Linked DNA regions of Homo sapiens: all the other regions are linked to region 4. Evidence: promoter capture Hi-C in 16 types of primary human blood cells and fetal thymus (Javierre and others, 2016). All regions are on one chromosome and are shown on one strand. Each heading gives the region's core, a stretch centred on a gene start or on the middle of the fragment in contact. The rest is flanking DNA. Distances are from core to core; before and after follow the strand shown. Region 1 overlaps LOC124902426 (a long non-coding RNA gene). Region 2 overlaps MBL2 (mannose binding lectin 2). Region 3 overlaps LOC105378305 (a long non-coding RNA gene). Region 4 holds the start of PRKG1-AS1 (PRKG1 antisense RNA 1).

Evidence for each region. The method cuts DNA at HindIII sites, captures the fragments that hold promoters and counts their contacts. A CHiCAGO score of 5 or more calls a contact.
Region 1: a fragment that was not itself captured here is called in contact with the fragment with the promoter of PRKG1-AS1 in region 4 in 3 of 17 cell types (endothelial precursors, megakaryocytes and M2 macrophages); the score reaches 12.2 in endothelial precursors.
Region 2: a fragment that was not itself captured here is called in contact with the fragment with the promoter of PRKG1-AS1 in region 4 in 1 of 17 cell types (megakaryocytes); the score reaches 8.2 in megakaryocytes.
Region 3: a fragment that was not itself captured here is called in contact with the fragment with the promoter of PRKG1-AS1 in region 4 in 1 of 17 cell types (M2 macrophages); the score reaches 5.6 in M2 macrophages.

Annotation. Positions count from the first base shown.
Region 1 is chr10:52,577,722-52,580,474 of GRCh38, reverse strand. It overlaps LOC124902426 (a long non-coding RNA gene), which reads right to left. Exons shown (of 2, transcript XR_007062146.1): 2 at 426-785. All of the region lies in intron 1 of LOC105378305 (a long non-coding RNA gene), which reads left to right. Among named protein-coding and RNA genes, the nearest start is that of LNCAROD, 110 kb to the right of the region's middle. The HindIII fragment of the contact is 2,831 bases long and covers 1-2,752 here.
Region 2 is chr10:52,768,012-52,770,715 of GRCh38, reverse strand. It overlaps MBL2 (mannose binding lectin 2), which reads left to right. Exons shown (of 5, transcript NM_001378373.1): 3 at 1-46; 4 at 1,401-1,469; 5 at 2,206-2,704. The coding sequence ends at 2,579. Among named protein-coding and RNA genes, the nearest start is that of MBL2, 3.4 kb to the left of the region's middle. The HindIII fragment of the contact is 175 bases long and covers 1,302-1,476 here.
Region 3 is chr10:52,617,676-52,620,525 of GRCh38, reverse strand. All of the region lies in intron 1 of LOC105378305 (a long non-coding RNA gene), which reads left to right. Among named protein-coding and RNA genes, the nearest start is that of LNCAROD, 150 kb to the right of the region's middle. The HindIII fragment of the contact is 187 bases long and covers 1,241-1,427 here.
Region 4 is chr10:52,312,604-52,315,440 of GRCh38, reverse strand. PRKG1-AS1 (PRKG1 antisense RNA 1) reads left to right here and starts at 1,313. Exons shown (of 6, transcript NR_038277.1): 1 at 1,313-1,807; 2 at 1,956-2,043. It overlaps DKK1 (dickkopf Wnt signaling pathway inhibitor 1), which reads right to left and starts at 1,160. Exons shown (of 4, transcript NM_012242.4): 1 at 764-1,160; 2 at 356-518. The coding sequence starts at 1,006. The HindIII fragment of the contact is 4,208 bases long and covers 1-2,837 here.

The DNA of each region.
Region 1 (2,753 bases), core at 88-2,587, 270 kb before region 4:
GATATTAATTGGTCTAATTTCAACACTGTTGTGTCTGAGGGAATTGAGAGTCCAAGGAGCAGGAGAAAGATGAGGCAACACCTGATTGGTGGAGCAGTTAGAATACACACAGTATTTACCAATTAAGTGCACCGTCCTATATGAATGCAGTTGGTGGTGCCCTAAAACAATTACAATAGGAACATCAAAGATCACTGATCACAGACCACCATCACAGATATAATCATAGTGAAAATTTTTAAATATTGTAAGAATTACCAAAATGTAACATAGAGACGCAAGGTGAGCACATGCTCTTGGATAAATGGCACCAATGGACTTGCTGAATGAAGGGTTACCACACAAACCTTCCATTTGTAAAAAAAAAAAAAAAAAAAAAAAAAAGCAATATCTGTGAAGCACAAAAAAAGTGAAGTGCAGTAAAATGAGGTATGCCTGTTTTTTATTAAGAAGTCTTTTTTTTTTTTCAGACGGACTCTTGCTCTGTCACCAGGCTGGAGTGCAGTGGCACGATCTCGGTTTACTGCAACCTCCACCTCCCAGGTTCAAGCAATTCTCCTGCCTCAGCTTCCCAAGTAGCTGGGACTACAGGCATGCACCACCATGCCCAGCTGATTTTTCTATTTTTGTTAGAGACGGGGTTTCACCATGTTGGCCAGTCTGGTCTCGATCTCCTGACCTCGTGATCCATCCGCCTCGGCTTCCCAAAGTGCTGGGACTACAGGCGTGAGCCACCGGCCTGGCCCAAGAAGTCTTCTTTTTATAGTTAAGGAAGGGTGAAATCCCTGGAAAAGGAGAGATTGACATCCTAAGCATTCCCAAAGATATAAAGACCTTACAAATGTTTCTGTGTTCACTTTGATAAAATCTCATCACCCTTTCAAGCATAAAACTTAAACTCTTTTGGTTTGAAATGTAGTGCTGTTTTATCTTTTGTGTGCTTAGAACTGCTCTTCTTTATAAACCAGCCCTCTTCTGCAGATCTGTATTTTTCATTTAAGATCTACAGGAAAATAAATAATACTGATTCCAAATATCTTTTGTAAGAGAATGTTCAAAAGTTTGATCATATGCAGGCCTCTTTGTTATGATATAGTAAACCTTTGATTGCATCACTCCTATCTAAACACGTTTCTTTCTCCTGACCGTCTCTCAGTTTGTATGCGGGAGTCAGGATTGGTTTTCTTGGTTTGCTTCCTGTTTTGTTTCTCTTTAAGCACAATGGCAGCCAGTTGTTCCTGCGGCACTGTGGTCTGCTGAATTTTTCTCTTATCAATCTTCTAGAGAAAAAAATGTTAAGGATGTTTGTTATTACAATAATTAGAAAGGAATTCTACCTTCTAAATTCTCACAGATATCAGGAAATATACCCATTGGCCACAATCCTAATCACTAAACTTCAGATTCCTTAAAAGCTCTATTATTTTAACTACCATTTCCCTTAAAAAATGTCTAGTTGTGGAAACCTCAGGAAATGCACAGGAAATAACTGCCTGAGAAAATGTTAGCCAGGGAACGGGGTCATATAACAAAGTGGTAAGGCATGACTGAAACTACACCCAAACATTGTTATTTTACTTCTCAAACTGTCTTTGTTGGTGGCATTAAATATTTATAAAGAAATAACTCTGTCACAATATGGATATCATGTCTTAGAAATATCATTGCCCAATTAGGCAAAGAACCAAAACAGCCAGCTAGTTATTGACTTTTCAAGGCAAGGGGAAGTGGAGAGTTGAGTCAATTATCCAGGCAATATTCTTGCTACTGAGAGAATTTGTGTTCAACGATTCCAAGTGATTGGGTACAGACACTGCTTGCAGTCAACTTTTCACTTCTATTTTGGATATCCATTTGATTTACAAGTTCACAGATATTTAGAATTGTGAAGATACGACATCTGACTTAAAAAAAAAATAGGCAGACACTTTGCAGTAGAAAAGGCTGATGTAAATAAGAGATATTCTCTCTTATCGCTCAAAATCTATTCAGATCTATGCTGATTCCATACCAGACAGACTTGAATATACATCTCAGCTTTGCTACTAGTGCTTATGAATTTGGGCATTTTTTTTTTTTTGGTATCCACTAAGCCTCAGTTTCTCTCTTTGTAAAATGACAATAACAGTACCTTCCTTTGGCTTAAAGATACACATTTAATTTCACATTTGAGTATTTCTGATGTGAAATTGATGAGTTATATAATTGATGAGTAAATTCGACATAGTGTTTTGTCTTTCTCCTAAATGAAAATTACTAAATAATGCAGTTTATAATCTACAGCATACAGAAAGAGATGAAATGGTCACATGTAATTCATAGTATTTTTTCAAGATTACAGGAGATAATACTTGAATTGCTCTTGCCACATAAAGAATACTAAAGTTTAGCTACCACACTTACTATTATCATTGTAACTGCAACTCCATGACTAAAACTACCAATGCCTCTGACTCAGTTTCCTCACGTGTAAAATAAAGGGAATAAGGTACACTCTATCTCATAGAGTTTAAACTTACCTAAAGCTCTTTGCATGGTGCTTGGTACATAATAAGTGCTCATTAAAAGGTAGCTACTACTATTATTTACAATTAATAACTGTGACCACTATCATGGCCTCTACTACTACAACCACTCTTATTAGGAGGAATTATAGCCTCATTAATCTCAAATAATTTGCAGTCTAATTATAAAAACATTAAAGCAAAATATTTCAAGATAGAATTTGCTTTCAATGTTGTTCCATTAAGCTT
Region 2 (2,704 bases), core at 140-2,639, 460 kb before region 4:
TCACCAGGACCAAAGGGCCAAAAAGGAGACCCTGGAAAAAGTCCGGGTAAGGACCCCAGCAAGGTCTGAGCTGACTTCACCCAGGGTTCTGAGACCTTGAGTATCTGGTAAGAGGTGCCCCTTCTCCTGTTCCTTCAAAGGAAGATACCCAAATTTGCTTTCTGACCCAGTGCCCTCAGCCCTCTCTTCATTCTTAGAGCCTTAGGGAATTCCTATAAGTGCCTGAGTACAGACTTACAAACTTTTCAAGACAACTCCCTCATCAGGCACTCCCTGTAAGAGCTGAGCCTGGATTCTCCATCAGCTGAAACAGTCTAATGTGAGGCCCTGGTCCTAGAGGGAGAAAACAGGCCATCTAAGTGTGGGCTTATTATACCTATTTTTACAAAAGCATGTAACCATGGTATGTCATATTTTACTTCATAAGAAACCAAGCCAAAGCTTAATAGCTTAAAAACATAGCCGTCAATTTAAATCACAAGTCTGTGGGTCGGCCATGTGATTTCTCTGCTGGTTTAAGCTGGGCTTACCCACATGTCTGTGGTCAACTGATGGCCAATAGTCTCACTCATGTGTCTGGCTGTTGTCTGAATGTTAGCTGGAGTGATGAGGGTAATTGAACCACATCTCTCATCATCCAACAGGGCTTGTTCACATAGCAGTGATTACAGGATTCCCAAGAGTAGAAATAAGATAGGCTTTAGGCTTCTTGAAGACTCAGAGCACATTATCATTTCTGTCAGACTGTATTGGTCAAAACAAGTCACAAGGCCAGCCCAGATTCAAGGAGTGGGGTAATAGACTCATGTCTTAATGCGAGGAGCTGTACCCTATTGAGGCCATTTTTGCCATCTACTACAACAAGTGATTTGCTCATGCCCTCCCCACTTGGATAATGGGCAACTCACAAAAATCTTGGTTTCCTGACTAACAGAACAAACCTGGAAAAAACAAAAACAAAACAAAAGACATCAAAAGCAAAACCTCTCCAAAGACAAAAACTCTGCAATCTTTTTCGTCACTCTTCACCAGGTCATAATAGAGTAACGCCTCAAGAGATTTCTTTTTAGTTTTGATAGAACAATTTATTTGAAAAAAAAATCTGTGAAGAACCTGGCATATGGATTGCTAGGTAATCAGGGAGTATATGTGTGCATGTGATATGTATGCGTACTTTGGGATACAGTAAACAGACAAAGAGGGACATTTGGGGTTGGATGGAAATAGCGATTTTTCATTCTTTGGGCTTTTCAGTATTTTTTATTTTCCTTCAAAGTGTAAACATCAATGTAAAATAAGCTTTTTTTTTCAGTTTGAAAAAGATACTCCACTCCCTTGTATATGCACAGTTCTGAGGCTCCTTCTCAACAATGCTTCTTTACTTTGTTCTAATTTTCTAGATGGTGATAGTAGCCTGGCTGCCTCAGAAAGAAAAGCTCTGCAAACAGAAATGGCACGTATCAAAAAGTGTAAGCTTTTTCTCTTACTCTCCAGGCAGCTTGAAGTTTGGGAAAAATAGAATGCAACAAATATTTGTTGAATGCATATAATTTTCTGTACCCTGCTAGGCATTTCTCATATTCTTACCTCATGAAATTCTCACAACATTTTGGTAGAAATGGAGGCAAAGGGAAGTTAAATTACTTGTTCAAATGCACAGAGCTAATAAATGGCAGGGGTGGTTTATAGATGGAAGTCAGTCTGACTCGAGAGACCCTAATCCTTTACCGTCTGATATTGCTCACTGAAAATGGGACTTATATCCCTTTGTTGCACTGGTATTGAGACCTGGCCGTGGGGTCTAACCTGCCTGGGGCAAATATTTTCAGACATTTTTTGTTTGGTCTCAAGTTAACAATTTAGAATTCAGAAGTCCAAATTATATGTCTTTTAGAATTCTGATCTGAAAGCACAGAGAGGCCTTTGTACCAGTCTGTCTGTTCACATTTGGGTTGCCATATTTAACAAATAAAAAGACAAAGCACCAGTTAAATTGGATTTCAGCTGAAAAACATTTTTAGTATAAGTGTGTCTGAAAAATTATATGGGAGATATACTAAAATATTCATTGTTTGTCTGAAATTCAAATTTAACTGGACATACTATATTTTATCCGGCAACTGTACTCTAGAAGACTTTTTCTTGAGAAATACCTTGAGTTGGGCTTAAGGATGAGTCAGTTTCACCCACTTTTTCACATTTTAGGGCTCACCTTCTCTCTGGGCAAACAAGTTGGGAACAAGTTCTTCCTGACCAATGGTGAAATAATGACCTTTGAAAAAGTGAAGGCCTTGTGTGTCAAGTTCCAGGCCTCTGTGGCCACCCCCAGGAATGCTGCAGAGAATGGAGCCATTCAGAATCTCATCAAGGAGGAAGCCTTCCTGGGCATCACTGATGAGAAGACAGAAGGGCAGTTTGTGGATCTGACAGGAAATAGACTGACCTACACAAACTGGAACGAGGGTGAACCCAACAATGCTGGTTCTGATGAAGATTGTGTATTGCTACTGAAAAATGGCCAGTGGAATGACGTCCCCTGCTCCACCTCCCATCTGGCCGTCTGTGAGTTCCCTATCTGAAGGGTCATATCACTCAGGCCCTCCTTGTCTTTTTACTGCAACCCACAGGCCCACAGTATGCTTGAAAAGATAAATTATATCAATTTCCTCATATCCAGTATTGTTCCTTTTGTGGGCAATCACTA
Region 3 (2,850 bases), core at 85-2,584, 310 kb before region 4:
CTCAGCAAGTCCCCAGTGAGTGGCTTCCAGCTTTATAGTTACTGCCTGCAGCACTCAGTAAACTTCACCATCCATTGGGCACAGCCACACTCCTCAAAGAAGTCTGGATCTCAGCCTTGGTGAGAGAAGCTCTTCCAAGTTTGCTCCTTCCTTAGGTATTCTCTCAGCCCTAGAATTAGACATTGTTCTTTACATCTGTTATCCCTGAACTTCCATTACACTTAAAGCCAAAATGCAAAGTCTTCCATAAATCTTTTCAGATTCCTAATGTAATTGCGTCTGTTTTCTGAATTTCTATTAATAATTTATTTAAACTTCTCATACACTTCTTGGCACTTTCTCCCTTATGTTTTAACTATAATGAATATGAATTGTTTTGTACCACTCAGGGGGTGAATAAAATCACACTGTTTATTTATCATATTCTATCAGAACGAGGTTCTAGAAATATAAAACAGTTTAAGGTTAGCAGGAAGTCCAGGACCATATTCTTAAGGCCACCTGTTTACCATCTTAGATAATACAAAAAAATCAGCCCAGGAAATAGGTCCCCCAGCTTCCCTTGTCCAGAGCGAAAGGGCCAGTGCTTACCCTTTATGCAGAGTAAGAAAGCAGAGGTTTAGACTGCCAGCAAAATAGGGCATCAATAAGGTGAGGAAAGTTTACTTTACTATTATTTTTTATAGTTTTTTCATCTACAAATATAGAAAGTGTTTTTATTTTAGCATGCACACAAGTTTAGCATTTTATAGTTTAGTATTATTTTGACTTTGATTCACACGTGGATAAGTGAGTGAGAGTTTCTTAAACTTTTCAGTGCTCTGGGCCTCTGAACGTCTTGCCTTGGAAGAATCTTGACATTGCTGGGTTTGCCACCACCAACCCTTGCTTGCACACAGAACAACAACTGAGTTGCTGGGTCTTCCTTCCTCTGCCTATTGCTGCTTTCATCCTATGTCCCTGCAGAGGCCAGCCTGGTTTTTTGAAGGACAGTGGCTCTGAGTGTGATTTCATTCCTTCATAACCAGCTTGGTTATGGCTTGCCCTGGCTCAAGGCCTCAGTGCTAATGTCCAGTCCATCTGGGTACCACACCTGGAAAGCCACATTGGACCCTCTGGATCTCAGAGGGCTCAAACACCCACCCACATGGAACCTGCAGTCTTTATGTCCTCCATGTCCTGAGAGATCTATCCAGCATGAAGGGTTCATTTCACATGCTGGTGATTGATCTGAAAAGCTTAGGTGGTCAATTAGAAAAGACTGAAAGGGGGACCTAACCACTCTCAATGAGTCACTCTCCCATTCCTTCTAATAGTCACTCTTCCTGAGGATGAATACAGAATTTCTTGCACACACACACACACACTAATGCATTCACATACATAATAAGTTCCTGAATGGTCATCTACGTATTTTGTTATAAGCTTGTCTTATCTTTTCCACTCAAGTCAAAATCCTAAATGTAAGCTCAGGGCCTGATTTCTGTCCTTTGTGCCACACATAAAGTAATATGTGGTAAGTGGACAAAATACTTGTTGAATTAGAGAGCGAATGATGGCATTATTTTTAATTCCAAAAACTTCATTTGATTAGTATAATCACATAACTAACAGTTTCACTTTACCAATAATAAATCATTGAGAGTAACAGAATCAGGAGTCAAAAACTGCTTATTTAGAGACTAGTTATAATCAATGAGTATTTCAGGAAAAAAAAAAAAAAACATTTATTAGGCACCCACTTACTATGTGCCTGGAACTATGTTAGGTGCTAGGGTCACAAACATTAATCAGATAAGATGCCTGCTATTAAGAAGTTTATAGTTTATAAAGGACAACCAGCACATAGGTGAAAATTCATTTTTCAGTGTAACAAGGCCAATGAAGATGAGTATAAAATACTGGGGGTGCAGAGGACACACAGTTATATAGCACTCTGTGATTCCACCAACATAACACTCAATATACTCTAGTGGAATTACCAATTGAATAAATAATTGCCTTCTCTAAAAGATTATAAGCTCCAAGAGATCAGTGCCTCTATTATGTTCCCTGTAATCTCCCAAGTAACTAGCAGAGATCTTGGAGCATAATAGGTACTAAATAACCTCATAAGCAAATGAATGAATGAATGAATGATACTACTACTGTTACTGCTACTAGTAGCTGAAGGAGAAACTCAAGGAAACACAGAATTTTACTTTAGGAGACAGGACTCCAGTGTCAGATGTACCTGATTTTGAATCCTAGCTCCCCTATTTACTAACTGGGTGGACTAATTTTTTGCCTTTCGAGACCTGGGTTTTTATATCTTTGAGAAGGAAATAATACTGTTACCTAACTCTAGCTTTATGCAAGGTTTAAGATAATAAATATAGATGCTCAGTGCACTGCCTAAAGCTTAGTAGGCACTTATTAAGTACTTACCATTTTATAAATATTACTATTTCCTATAGTTTCTCTTTTGTCATTTATAGTAGAAGCAGACGAAAAAAGTGGCAATATGTCTTCTCAATGTAAATTTAATAATAGTGGTTTACATTTGTTGACAAAAGAATAAAAGGGCTCCCCAAACCTTCTTTTGAAATGTTAATTAGTCCTGACATATTAATAATTTTCACAATTTGAAATTCAAAGGCTTTTATATCCTTATCTGAAGTTTCTATATGAGAAGCTGATGATAAATCAAGTGTATTCTCTTAAAATAAGATTCAGTTAAATTGATTGAGGTATTTGTTTCAGAGACTATAATGGTTCTCATTTTATACTGAAAGCTTTAGAAAATATAAATAAACTTTGTCACAATAATGTTTCCTTCAGGGATTTATCCCAAGAATCAGTCACTAGATA
Region 4 (2,837 bases), core at 64-2,563:
ATCCCATCGTCCTCCTCATCATCCCCCTTCTCAATTGACCTCAAGGTTCTCCCCAGACAAATTTTTATGGAAGAGTCCACTACGAGGTGAACCGTTGTATTGAATCATTGAGGGACACGGAGGAAGATAAGGACCTCAGAGACCTCCCAACTTCTCTCTTCTTCCCGATTAAACACTTGCAATGAAGATACTTCAGCGGAATCCTGCATGCTGAACACCCATTTGCAGGTGGCGCCGCAGTGTTCTCAGGGCGGAGATTTCTCCCCCCACCCCCCCCAACCCCCCGCCCCCGCCCAATTCATAGACGCTCAAAGGCTGGACAGTTTTAGTGTGAAAGGGAGCTTTCAGGACTCACCATTTTTGCAGTAATTCCCGGGGCAGCACATAGCGTGACGCATGCAGCGTTTTCGGCGCTTCCTGCAGGCGAGACAGATTTGCACGCCTGCGTCCCCTCCGCGGGTGGGACTAGCGCAGTACTCATCAGTGCCGCACTCCTCGTCCTCTGCGCACGGGTACGGCTGTGGGAAGGGTTCGGGGAGAGGGTGAGGCACCCAGACGTCCAGGTACCCGCCCTCTTGGACCCGGGCGCTGATCACAGTCCTTATCTGTCCACCTCTCCAAAACCTGTTACTGCCCACTGCTCCCAAATGCAGGGTTACCAAATGCTCCCTGAACCGCACACATTCAGCACGTTCTACTCCCTCGTCTCCAGATAGGACCCTTTCAAGGTCAGAGCATCCTCTGAGTGCCCGACCCCTCTCACCTGGTAGTTGTCAATGGTCTGGTACTTATTCCCGCCCGGGTACAGGATTCCCGGCGCGGCGCTGACTGCAGAGCCTGGGTGCCCCGCAGCGCCGCCCAGCGGTGGGGGCAGGTTCTTGATAGCGTTGGAATTGAGAACCGAGTTCAAGGTGGCGCTCACTCCCAGCAGAGGGTGGCCGCCGAGAGCCGCCGCTACCATCGCGACAAAGACCCGGGTAGCTCCCGCTGCGCCCAGAGCCATCATCTCAGAAGGACTCAAGAGGGAGAAAGAAAGAGAAAATGACCGTCACTTTGCAAGCCTGGGTCCCCACGAAACCGTGCCGGTTCGGCTGCAGAGTCAGGGTCCGGGAGCCCCCTGCGGTCCCAGAGTCCTGACTGCAGGGAGCACAGAGCTCTGCGCCGCCACCGCCACCGCGGCTGCCTTTATACCGCGGGCCCGGAGCATTCCGGCCCCTTGGGAGGGAGACAACAAAGCCGGGATGGGATTTCAAAGCGCTGGGAGGGGCTGGGAGGGGGTGTGTTTGTGTACATGAAGGGGGGCCTTTGACACTCTTCACCCCGCCCCTCCCTTGCTTAGTCGCTCGGCTGGCCCGGCTCACCTTCGGGGTGAAGGCTACCAGCGAGCGTTATAGCAGACGACTTTAATAAATGCAGGCGGCAGCAGGAACTCTGGGAACTTGGGTGCCCTTGCCTGGCAGTAAGGGTTGAATTATCCGGATCTGAAATACTTTACAGAGCCGAGGGGTGATAGGCTCTGCAAAAGCACTTTTTGCCCCTCTCCTTTATGCCAATACTCGCTGACTGTGCACACAAGTCATATTCAGTATTAAATACAAACCGGTCTGTAATTCAATGGCTCTAGCAAGACGCCTCTGAGAGGGCCAGGTGGCGGGTGCAAGTTGCTCATTAACCCTTTAGAGTCGCAGTTTGCAGATCTGAGTTAGATCCCCGGCTTTGAGGTCCTTCAGTTGCCCTCCTCCCCCACCTCCCCCCGCCACTGCGAGAAAAATGTGCAAAGAGAAGGAAATTTGCACATCAAACGAGGGTAAGAAGGAAGAAGAGCTAATTCTCTTTTGATGGGAAGTTTAGAGAGGGAGGCGAGAGACTGGCGTTTAGAAATTAGATCAGGGGTGGAGGGAAGAGGGAAATGACCATCCGATAATCAAACCATTTAATGTTGTTCTTTGAATCAGGGCAATCGCGGCGGTAGATGAACTTGATTAGGCAGACGCGTGAGATCAAAGTGGCCGGGACCAAAGCGGACAGGGTCCAACGTGCCAGGTCAGTCGCCTTTCCCCGGTTCTCCCTTCTCAGTGGTGGGCTAATGTGGAGAAATAAGAAACCCTTAGGGCTTAGCGCCTGACTTCCTCATTAGTATATCACATCGCAACGCTTCCGAATGCAGGGTTTGCTCCCAAGTCTTACCTTGCACGGGACCACGCAATACCCTTTCTAGGGAGAAAAGAAACAACCTTGAGGAGAAGAAGAGCTGAAAGTGAATTAGAAAGTGAATTTGACGTCATTGAAATTGGTGTGTGGATATAATAAAGTAAGGCTGGTGTATAAGAATGATGTCATGCTTATAAATGGGAAATGATCTATTTAATTCAACAAAAACTTATTGGAAGCCTAGAGCCCTGGCATTGGGCTGCCCTCTGGGTTGTTACCTTATTTTTATTTTTTAAATTTTTTGGTGAGATGGGTGGTGGGGGGAGGGGCACAGTGAATACAAATATTTATGAGACACAGCTCTCATTTTAAATAATAAAGTTCTCTTTATTCTAATTACAGTAATAATAAAAGATGTAGTAACAATAAAATTATAGCAATAAATATAAAAGCATACATAATTCTTTTAAAAACAGGTTGATATTATAAGTGTCAGAAAATAAGCAACTGTTTTGTGAGTTTGGAAAAGGGAGAGATGATTGAATAATCACTATTGAATTAAAAAAGAGTAAGATATATTTATTTTGTCTTCCTCTAAGCTGTATAGATTTAGGCTGTCTATAATGACTCCACATGCTGACCTACTATAGTCAGAACTGGGGCCACCACCAAGTAAAGCCAGTGAC